Linked DNA regions of Homo sapiens: all the other regions are linked to region 1. Evidence: promoter capture Hi-C in 16 types of primary human blood cells and fetal thymus (Javierre and others, 2016). All regions are on one chromosome and are shown on one strand. The core of a region is centred on a gene start or on the middle of the fragment in contact, and the rest is flanking DNA. Distances in the headings are between cores, read along the strand shown.

Region 1 (3,553 bases), core at 735-3,234:
TCGCCCAGCTTCAACAATTGTTAACTCATGGGTAGACTTGTTTAATCTATTCTCCTACCCATTTCGCTACACCTGCCACCAGTTTGATAAATCCCAGATACCATATAATTTCATTTGCAAATATTTATTACTATTCTTATTATTATTTTGAGACAGAGTCTAGCTCTGTTGTCCTGGTTGGGGTGAAAGTGGCACAATCTCAGCTCACTGCAACCTCCGCCTCCCGGGTTCAAGCAATTCTGCCTTAGCCTCCCGAGTAGCTGGGACTACAGGCGCATGCCATCATGCCTGGCTAATTTTTGTATTTTTAGCAGAGACGGGGTTTCACCATATTGGTCAGGCTGGTCTCAAACTCCTGACCACAGGTGATCCGCCCGCCTGGGCCTCCCGAAGTGCTGGGATTACAGGTATGAGCCACTGCATCTGGCCTGCAAATATTTTCATATGAATCATGAAATTATAAGAAATTCTTTAAAAAGCAAAACTTATTAAAACTAAAAATACAAATAGCAATTCCTCAGGATCATCAGATATTATTTAATGTGTGTGTGTGTGTGTGTTTGTGGCGTGTGCGTGTTCGTATATTCAAATTAGTGTTCAATTAAGGTCCTAGAAATGGGGCCACTCCTGGTGGCTTCACACCTGTAATCCCGCACTTTGGGAGGCCGAGGTGGGAGGATTGCTGGAGCCCAGGATTTAGACACTAGCCTGGGCAAGATGGCTAGGTGTTAGCCATCTTGCGGAGATGGTATATCTCCACAAAAAATGCAAAAAATGTGTCGGATGTGGTGGAGCATGCCTGTAGTTCCAGCTACCTGGGAGGTTAAGGTGGGAGGATCACTTGAGCCCAAGGTTGCAGTGAGCCATGATCACACCACTGCACTCCAGCCTGTGTCACAGTGAGACCACGTCTCAAAAAAAAAGAGGTACCACATTCTAGACTTCTAGACTACTTGTCTTTCCCTGAATATGCAGTTAGTTTGCCAGTTTGTCTTCATATCACGAAGTTACTTAGTTACCTTTTTCAGATTTTTCTTTCCCTTATAACTCAGTTATAGTTCAAGGAAGCAAAATTAGATTGTTTCCGTTGGACAATGAATCTTAAGCAAGTTTCTCTTGCAGATTTTACCACACTATGTAGTTATGTATCTACTGGTCATTTATTCTGTAGTTTCGATTCCTCGATGGTCTGCTTAAATCAATTTTGTGCCCCAGGGCCTTGATAACATGTTTAAATTAGTTATTAATTACAAAGACCTATTATGATACAATTCTTTCCCCAATTAAAAACAAAACTAGGCCGGGCGTGGTAGCTCACGCCTGTAATCCCAGCACTTCATCCTGGCCAACATGGTGAAATCCCGTCTCTACTAAAAATAAAAAAATTAACTGGGCGTGGTGGCGGGCGCCTGTAGTCCCAGCTACTCAGGAGGCAGAGCCAGGAGAATCGCTTGAACCTGGGAGGCGGAGGTTGCGGTGAGCCGAGATCGCGCTGCTGCACTCCAACCTAGCGACAGAGCGAGACTCCGTCTCAAAACAAACAAAAACTAGCAGGCTTTTGTGACTACAAACAAGCTGGTTGCATGCTGCACTGCCTTTGGGTAAGAGTGGAACTCCAACTAAGAAAGTACATCTGGTAAACATAAGGGATTCACCCAGACTTGTCCTAAATAAGACTCCGATTACCCGAACTGAATCAGGAGTCCTTTAGAGCGACTCTAGCTAAGAAGGCCTGTTAGGCCCTGCACTAAGAGTTTCAGGTGGGAAAATTGCGCCATCCAGTTATAGGCCGTACAGCGGGAACTCCATGAACAACCTGGGTAACCTAATCCCTGAATAAGACTCCTTCCAGGTACCAGTGGGCTGAGGGCGGCAGGGCGACGCGCTGACGTCACGTCACGTTCCTTTGCACGTCCCCGCCTCCCCGCCCCTCTCCGCACTGTGACGTTCCCAGAGAGGAACGAAGCGTAAACAGCGCAGGGCATTTCGGGAGCGGGATTGTTTCGCGCAGGAAGCAGGCTCCATTTTAGCGCCGCCCGCCGTCGCCATCTGTTTCCCTTCCCTCCCCCATACCTAGCCCGAGTCTGAGCCCTAACGAGAAGGCTGGGCCTAGGCCGCTGGATGCTGGAGTGAAAGGAAGGGAGAAAGGGAAAAAGCGGGAAGAGTCGAGAAGGCTGAGTGTTAAGAGGCCAAGTGCGACGCGCGTATCCGGGCAGACGGACTGACGGACGGGCCCGTGCTTCTGCCGCGGCTGCGGCGCCCGCGCGAGTCGCGTCTAAGCGGCGGCGGCGGTGGCAGCGGCGGAAACCGAAGGGGAGCCATGGCGGCTGACAGTCGGGAGGAGAAAGGTTAGTGCGGAGAAAGATGACGGGCCGAGGCGAGGCTGGGGCCCGGGAGTGGGGTGATGGAGCAGTGGTCGTCGTTGGGGGTGGGGGGTGGGGGTTGGGGAGGTTAGCTGGCCTCGCGAGGAGCCGGTGGCCCCCACCGAGACACTTAGACTCTGGCGGAGACCAGGCCTGCCCTTTCGTCCTCAGTCTCCATATGGCCTAGCACTTCATCTCAGTAGGGTTTTTCTTTGATGCGGATTTCACGCTTGACTTTCCGTTTAGCTGTCTTGGGCTGAGAGGGGCCCTTTCTGAGTTGCAAGCTCCTAGGTTTATTTCCTGGTAGGATCATGCGGATGTAACGCGTATTTTCAGGACAACCATTTCTGTTAGGCTAAAATTTGAAAACCCCTAATGCCGCGATCAACACTGGTGGTGTGGTAAGTGAGCAAGTTTAGGAAGTGGCACTGGCAGGTTATTAATCTTGAGAAATATCTGCAAATAACTTCTGGCTGTTCCTGTTAAATAGGCAAAGTGAATTACCCGTTTTGTTCCTCGAATACTTATTTTGGAAAAACATAGTACTTGGAAAAAGGAATACTTAGTTTGGAAAGATGACTGTGTGACTTAGGCTGGCAAAGAAATCCTGGGTGCTATTATGTTAGAAAAACCGTGTGTAGCTCCCAGAGGGTACAGTCAGAAACAAATGAATGCAAGTTACAGAGAGTTGGAGGGATAAATTTCAGTGAAATGTAGAGAGAACTGACGTTGCTGTAATGGAAAGATAGTAATACTAAGTTCCCAAGCCCTAGAGATATTAATGTAGGTCCTAGATCAGTGTCTCTCTGGAGAGTGGTCTAGATTAAATGCTGCTTTAAGATCTTTTTCAACCCTAAGATTAACATAATAGTCTTGGAAAGATTATAGTTAAAAATATGACACGGTCGCTGCTCTGTGTCTCACACATCTCTTCTGTGTGCCTAATTGATTTGGGGTTTTTTTGTCGGGGGTTGTTAAGTGGGCTCTAGAGTCAAGTTACATTAGGCGTGTAATCCTTTTTTCTTAATTTTTCTGGTTTCTGCATCAGGAGAGTCTTCATGCTTCAATGAACTGCCCTAGGTTAGGGACAAGCTGGGAAAGTGGAATGGGTGGGAATACTTTTAAGATACTGCCCTTATCCTAAAGTAGTTCTTTGATTAGGTTATAGCAGTTTAATGTTCCATCCTTAA
Region 2 (3,553 bases), core at 321-2,820, 2.6 Mb before region 1:
AACCCTTAAGAACACTGCAATTGGGACTCTTGAAGCACTTGGTTCGCTTCAATAAATTTGTGCTTTTGTTACTTCGTTCTTTTGTTGTTTTGTCTTTCGTTGCTTCTTTTGTTGCTTTGTTTCTACGTTTTGTTCAATTCTTTGTTCAACACGCCAAAAACCCAGACAACTCAGTCAAGACTTCCCATCCAGTAACACTAATAAACCGGATATTACCCAGTCTGGAAGTTATCTGGTCCAAATTGTCTACAGAAACCAAAGGCCTTGCTATTCTTTTTTACATTGCAACTATCATCAGACCTGAAATGCATCTAAATGTGTAGCCAGAAGGGGAAAACGGTGACTCCATCCTCAGAAATAAAGAGCAGAAATTAAAATGTGAATCCTCGGGGATCACATTTTCCAGGATTAAACAGCAAGAATCATTCTATGTAACTGCCCTATATTATTCTGTTATGCAATTATTTTGTATATATTACTTTTACTTATCCCTATAGTGATTAATAGCAAGATCCTAGGAATATAAGAGGCCTGAAGAGTTGTCATCAGGTATAGCAAGGAAGTTGGGAGAAAGGTGCTGCGGAAGCTAATAGGTATCACATTTCACAGCCAAGCTTGGGGGAAAACTCATGAAATGGTAAGAGTACTGGCAGCTACCGAGAGGAGGAAGGCAAGTCTCTTGAGACCTTCAACAGGAAAGCAGAGCTGGTCCTGGATGGATGTCATAAAGAGGCTTGGGGTTAAGGAGTAGAAATCTCCAAGTGTGGTTTCCACAAAAAAGACCCACACAAGAAGTATCTTACAATGATGAAGAGTTTAAGCACTGGAAAATGAAAGATTTCAAACACCAGTTCTACCAGTTTCTGGCTGCAAAAACTTGAATTCATCTGAGCTTAAGAGTATACTTTGAAAAATACAAATGTGGGAGGCCGAGGCAGGTGAATCGCTTGAGCCCAGGAGTTTGAGACTAGCCTGGGCAACATGGCAAAACTCTTGTCTCTACAAAAAATAGAAAAATTAGCCAGGCGCCTGTAGTCCCAACTATTTGGGAGGCTGAGGTGGGAGAATTACCGAAGCCAGGGAGTCAAGGCTGCAGTGAGCCAAGATCATGCCACTGTACTCCAGTGAGATCCTGTCTCAACTAACAACAACAAAGTAAATGGGGGAAGCAAAGAATCTAGCTTTTTTGGCATTAAGTCCAGCATAATTTCCCATTTTCCTACATGACCTGGGGGTAACACAAGGAGAGAACAGAGAAAAGCACTTTTCAAAACATCTTGATTTTTGGTCCACAATCTCTTATCTAAAACCCTGGCAGCCAGATGTTTCAGAATTTAAAACTTTTAGAAAAGATTTTTAGAAAAGAAATTCTAAACTTTGGAACTGGCTGGACGCAGTGGCTCTTGCCTATAATCCCAGCACTTTGGGAGGTACTCTGGAATGCTTGAGCTCAGGAATTCGAGACCAACCAGGGAAACATGGCGAAACTAATAGAAAAAATACAAAAATTAGCTGGTTGTGGTGGCACACACCTGTGGTCCCAGCTACTCAGGAGGCTGAGGTGGGAGGATGGTTTGGGCCTGCAAAGTTTTAGCTTTAGTAAGCTATGATCGCGCCACTGCATGCCAGCCTGAGTGACACAGCAGCAAGACCCCGTCTCAATAATAAAATTTGGAATCGAAACTTTAGAAACGATACAGTGCATATACTGTATATTAATTATTAAGTAAGCACCCCCACTCCCCCTGCAGAGGTGTTAAATCAAATGCACTAATATTTTGCAGTGAAACAAAGAGTGTTAACATGAAGTGGGATAAAGACTATTAACATCTGGTCAGAATAAGTTTGCACTGAATTCAAAAAAAATACCTTTGGGGCCAAGCACGGTGGCTCACGCCTGTAATCCCAACACTGTGGGAGGCCGAGATGGACAGATTACCTGAGTTCAGGAGTTCGAGACCAACCTGGCCAACATGGCGAAACCCTGTCTCTACTAAAGATACAAAAACTAGCCGGGCGTGGTGGTGTGTGCCTGTGGTCCCAGCTACTCGGGAGGCTGAAGCTGGAGAATCGCTTGCACCCGGGAGGCGGAAGTTGCATTAAGCCAAGATCATGCCACTGCACTCCAGCCTGGATGAGAGTGAGACCCCGTCTCAAAAAAACAAACAAAAAAATTTTGGTTTTCTGAGCTTTTCAGGTTTTGAAACTGCAGATAAGAGACAGGATACAGCGCACCCAGCCAGTCATGATCGTGCTGCCACCTAATCCTTTCTTACCAGAAATTTTACTACTCCTTCAATTTGGGAATTTTCTCCTGTGGGAATTCTAGTGTAACTAAAGAATGAGACAGCGTTCTGACTGACAACATACAGGTTTATTAGGAAAACTAAATCAACCCAGAAAATAATAAAAAGCAGAAAAAATAAGAGACCCTGAACATTAAGTAGTGGTTACACAGCCCATGAGTTTGTCTACACAAACTCAACTACTTCTGTAAAATGATATTTATCAACTTAATAAGCTTGGTTATAAATTTCCCCTTGTAATCTTCATTAGTGCCTAGAAAACGGGGTACAGAAGCCATCATAAATGCAAGAGTGGGAGTCAGTGTGCTTCCTGCAAATCTGAAATCTGAAAGCAAAATAACATACTAGAAGAGCATAGGAGCCATCAGATGTATACAGCTTAGCAAAGAAAGCTGTTTTACTACATGCTTGTGAAGTGGACTGAGGTCATCAAGAAAATGTGACACTGTATTCATCATGCTGTAACAGGAGCATGTACAATTTCTTAGTAAAACTTCTACTAAACATGGTTGTTTAAACCTTAGAGGAATAATTAATTAGAATCTTTGTGTTGCAAAATGCTCATTGCAGATGTTATATAAGGGATTAACAACTTATAATACATTTAGTACAACAGAGGTAAATGAACCTAATTATCAAAATGTAGGTAATTTTACAATATATATTTCTTTACACACAATAAATGAATAACAGAGTGTTTTTATTTTTTTATTTTTTGAGACGGAGTCTTGCTCTGTCGCCCAGGCTGGAGTGCAGTGGCACAGTCCGCCTCTCGGATTCAAGCAATTCTCCTGCCTCAGCCTCCCGAGTAACTGGGACAACAGGCAAGCGCCACCGTGCCCGGCTAATTTTTTAATGTATTTTTTAGTAGAGATGGGGTTTCCCCACATTGGCCAGGCAGGTCTCAACTCCTGAGCTCGTGATCCGCCCACCTCGGCCTCCCTAAGTGCTGGGATTACAGGCGTGAGCCACCGCGCCCGGCCCACAGGGCGTTTTTAAAGCATGCAGACACAGTCCACAACAGCATTGGCTAGCATTTCAACTAGTCTTTCTCCCAAATACCATTAGTGACTTTGAGCAACTGTGGCTACTACCATTAAATATTCTTAACCTGAAGATTCAAACACAAATGCCTCTAACATAAATACTTCTGATACTCTGAGAAGACTTCTAAAATACACGTTTTGGCCAGGCGCGATGGCTCACGCCTATAATCCCAGCACTTTGGGAAGCCAAAGCTCATGGGT
Region 3 (3,553 bases), core at 326-2,825, 2.5 Mb before region 1:
CATTTGTTATTTTCTCTAGAGAAGCGCATAAAGATTAAAATAGTTATTGAATTCTCAGATAACCCAGCAAGTTGTAATGATTTTTTTTAATGGGTTTGTTCCTTTGTTATGTAAATTTTTCATCCCTGTTGGGTTTTTTCTTCGTAGTATATGAGATAAACAATGAAGATGTGGATGCCTTAATGAAGAGCTTGCAGGTCAAATCTTCGCCTGTGGTAAATGATGGTGTGGTTCGTTTGAGAGGACTTCCTTATAGTTGCAATGAGAAAGACATTGTAGACTTCTTTGCAGGTACTTTGCAGTTGTATTATGCTTGGGAGCTCATATCTTTTTTCCCTTGGTATCTCCTTCTATATCTTAGATGAGCCTGTTTCTGGGCAAAGGCATGCAGTTATATTAGGTTCTTTAGGGGAGAGCTCTTCACTTAAATTTCTAATATTTATAGATTTTATATGTGTTTTTGTTCTATCAGGCAGATTTTAGGAGGGAAGTCAGATTTCAGAATAATTTCATGAGGGTTTTACTATTGAAGGAAATAACTTCTCATAATAGTTGCTGTATTTGTGTAAGACAATAACAATTTATATAATTTAAAAGTATTTTCTAATTCCTAGAACCATTAGCAGTGAAGTCTGTGATTTCTATTGTTTCCTAGTATATAATTAACAGCAAAAAAAAAAAAAAAAACTGGTGGGGAGAATTGTATGTTTTGGGTGGGCTTCTTGGACCTTACCTATTCTGGAAATACAAGTATGTAGGTGTTGACTGACTTTTGACTGCATAATAATTTTCTTCCTGTCAAGCATGTATTCAGTTTTGGGACTGGCAAAACAGAATAAAAATTTTATTAGTATGTGAATGATGGTGTTAATTCTAAGGATAAAAAAGCCTGCTAGTAGCATTAAAATCTCTTGGTGTCCTAGGACTGAATATAGTTGACATTACTTTTGTGATGGACTATAGAGGGAGGCGAAAAACAGGGGAAGCCTATGTGCAATTTGAAGAACCAGAAATGGCCAACCAAGCCCTGTTGAAACACAGGGAAGAAATTGGTAATCGGTGAGTAAAGCAGATACTAATGATGCAGAAGTGTTACACATTAAGTCATTTTGATGAATGTGCTGTAATATGACTGAAAAGTTATCCAAACATAGAAAAGTAGAGAGAGTAGTGTAGTGAGCCATCAAATGCCCATAATTTAGATTAACAATTTTTTTTCGACTGCTCCTTTTTTTTTTTTTTGAGACAGAGTTTCACTCTTTTTGCCTAGGCTAGAGTGCAATGGCACGATCTTGGCTCACTGCAACCTCTGCCTCCCTGGTTTAAGCGATTCTCCTGCCTCAGCCTCCCAAGTAGCTGGGATTACAGGCGCCTGCCACCATGCCCGGCTTTTTTTGTATTTTTAGTAGAGACGGGGTTTCACCATGTTGGCCAGGGTGGTCTCGATCTCTCGACCTTGTGATCCGCCCGCCTCGGCCTCCCAAAGTGCTGGGATTACAGGCGTGAGCCACCGCATCCGGCTTGACTGCTCCTTGTGGGGCAGGGACTAACCCATAGACAGAGTACCTAGAGCAGCTAGATTAACACATTTATATATAAAATGTAACATCTGTTATATTTGCTTCATCTGGGTTTTTTTTAGTATGCATCTTTTAAAAAAATTTTTTTACATAATTTCAATGTTATATCTAACACTGTTAGCAATAGTATATTATCTAATAACAGTTCATAATAGCATTTTCCCAATTATACCAAAAATAGCCTTTTTTTTTTTGGCAACGGAGTTTCACTCTGCCGCCTAGGCTGGAGTGCGGTGGTGTGATCTTGGCTCACTGCATCCTCTCTCTGCCTCCCAGTTTCATGTGATCCTCCTGCCTCAGCCTCCTGAGTAGCTGGAACTAGAGGCATGCGCCACCATGCCCAGCTAAGTTTTGTATTTTTAGTAGAGACAAGGTTTTACCATGTTGGCCAGGCTGGTCTAGAACTCCCGGACTCAAGTCATTCACCCACCTCGGCCTCCAAAAGTGCTGGGATTACAGGTGTGAGCCAGCACACCGGACAAAAATACAGAATCCAGATAAGGTCTACACACTGCATTTGATTGTTATGTCCATAATTCTCTGTGTGTGTGTGTGTTTTTTTTTTTTTTTTAAGACACAGGGTCTTATTCTGTCACCCAGGCTGGAGTGCAGTGGCATGATGATAGCTCACTACAGCCTTGAATTCCTGGGCTCAAGCAATCGTCTCGCCTCATCCTCCCAACTAGCTAGAACAATAGGCATGTGCCGCCACACCTGGCTGTGTGTATGTGTGTGTGCGTGCGTGCGTGTGTGTTTGTAGGTGGGGTCTTGCTGTGTTGCCCTGGCTGGCCTCAAACTCATGGGCTCAAGTGATCGCCCGCTTTGGCTTCCCAAAACGCTAGGATTACAGGTGTGAGCCACTGCACCTGACCACTGATTCTCTTGAACTAGAGCAAATCCCCCTTACTTATTCTTCCCCCCTTTTTAAAAGCAATTGACTTTTGAAGAAATTAGATCAGTTGTCTTGTACAGTATCTCATGTTGACATCACCTCAGGATGCACATGATGATAAGTGGGTTCATTTGTGTTTTAACTTTAACTTTGGAGGTACAGTTTAAAATGTCAAATGTTAAATCACTGTTTCGTTAATTTTTTTTTTTACTGTTTTCTGGCCTTTTAAATCAGCTCCTTTGAAGTAAACAAAACAGCCATTCCAAAGCCAGTGTTTCAGGATCTACTGATAGAAGTGGTTCAAAGGTTTTTTGGTTTTTTGAGACAGGATCTTGCTCTGTCACCCAGGCTGAAGTGCAGTGCCACAAACACTGCTCATTTCAGCCTTGACCTTCTGGGCTCAAGCAGTCCTGCCATCTCAGCTTTCCTTGTAGCTGGTACCACAGGCATGCATCACCATGCCTGGCTAATTTTAGACAGAGTCTTATTCTGTTACCCTCGCTGGAGTGCAGTTGTGTGATACAGCTCACTGCAGTTGTGGCCTCCTGGGCTCAAGCAATCCTCCCACTTCAGCCTCCCAAGTAGCTGGGACTACAGATACATGCCACCACACCCAGCTAATTTTTGTATTTTTGTAGAGACGGGGTTTTGCATGTTGCCCAAGCTGGTCTCACACTCCTGAGCTCAAGTGATCCACCTGCCTCAGCCTCCCAAAGTACTGGGATTATAGGTGTGAGCCACTGTACCTGGTCTCCTGGCTAATTAAAAAAAAAAACAAAAAAAAACTTTTGTAGAGATGGTGTCTCACTTTGTTGTCCAGGCTCAAAGGTTTTTTTTTTAAAGAAGTAGTGCTCATCTAATCTTTATAGATTTGTAAACACAAGCTAGTTTTATAACTCTTAGTTTAGAAGGCCATGTTAAGAAAAAGGAAACTGTGCTGGGCGCGGTGGCCCATGCCTATAATCCCAGCACTTTGGGAGGCCGAAGTGGGAGGATCACTTGAGCCCAGGAGTTCAAGAGCAACTTGGGCAACATGGCAAGAACCCATGTCTACAAAAATAAAAAATAAAAAAATTAGCAG

What was found. Contacts are between HindIII fragments. The CHiCAGO score rates a contact against its expected background, and 5 or more counts as called.
Region 2: a contact is called between a fragment that was not itself captured here and the fragment with the promoter of YTHDC1 in region 1, in 1 of 17 cell types (total B cells). The highest score is 6.0, in total B cells.
Region 3: a contact is called between a fragment that was not itself captured here and the fragment with the promoter of YTHDC1 in region 1, in 1 of 17 cell types (total CD8 T cells). The highest score is 6.3, in total CD8 T cells.

What each region holds. Positions count from the first base shown.
Region 1 is chr4:68,348,521-68,352,073 of GRCh38, reverse strand. It overlaps YTHDC1 (YTH N6-methyladenosine RNA binding protein C1), which reads left to right and starts at 1,984. Exons shown (of 17, transcript NM_001031732.4): 1 at 1,984-2,348. The coding sequence starts at 2,321. RefSeq lists an enhancer at 2,036-2,615. The HindIII fragment of the contact is 7,711 bases long and covers 1-3,553 here.
Region 2 is chr4:70,988,873-70,992,425 of GRCh38, reverse strand. No RefSeq gene overlaps it. Among named protein-coding and RNA genes, the nearest start is that of DCK, 3.0 kb to the left of the region's middle. The HindIII fragment of the contact is 1,907 bases long and covers 617-2,523 here.
Region 3 is chr4:70,829,045-70,832,597 of GRCh38, reverse strand. It overlaps GRSF1 (G-rich RNA sequence binding factor 1), which reads left to right. Exons shown (of 10, transcript NM_002092.4): 4 at 148-291; 5 at 924-1,059. Among named protein-coding and RNA genes, the nearest start is that of GRSF1, 9.1 kb to the left of the region's middle. The HindIII fragment of the contact is 4,925 bases long and covers 1-3,553 here.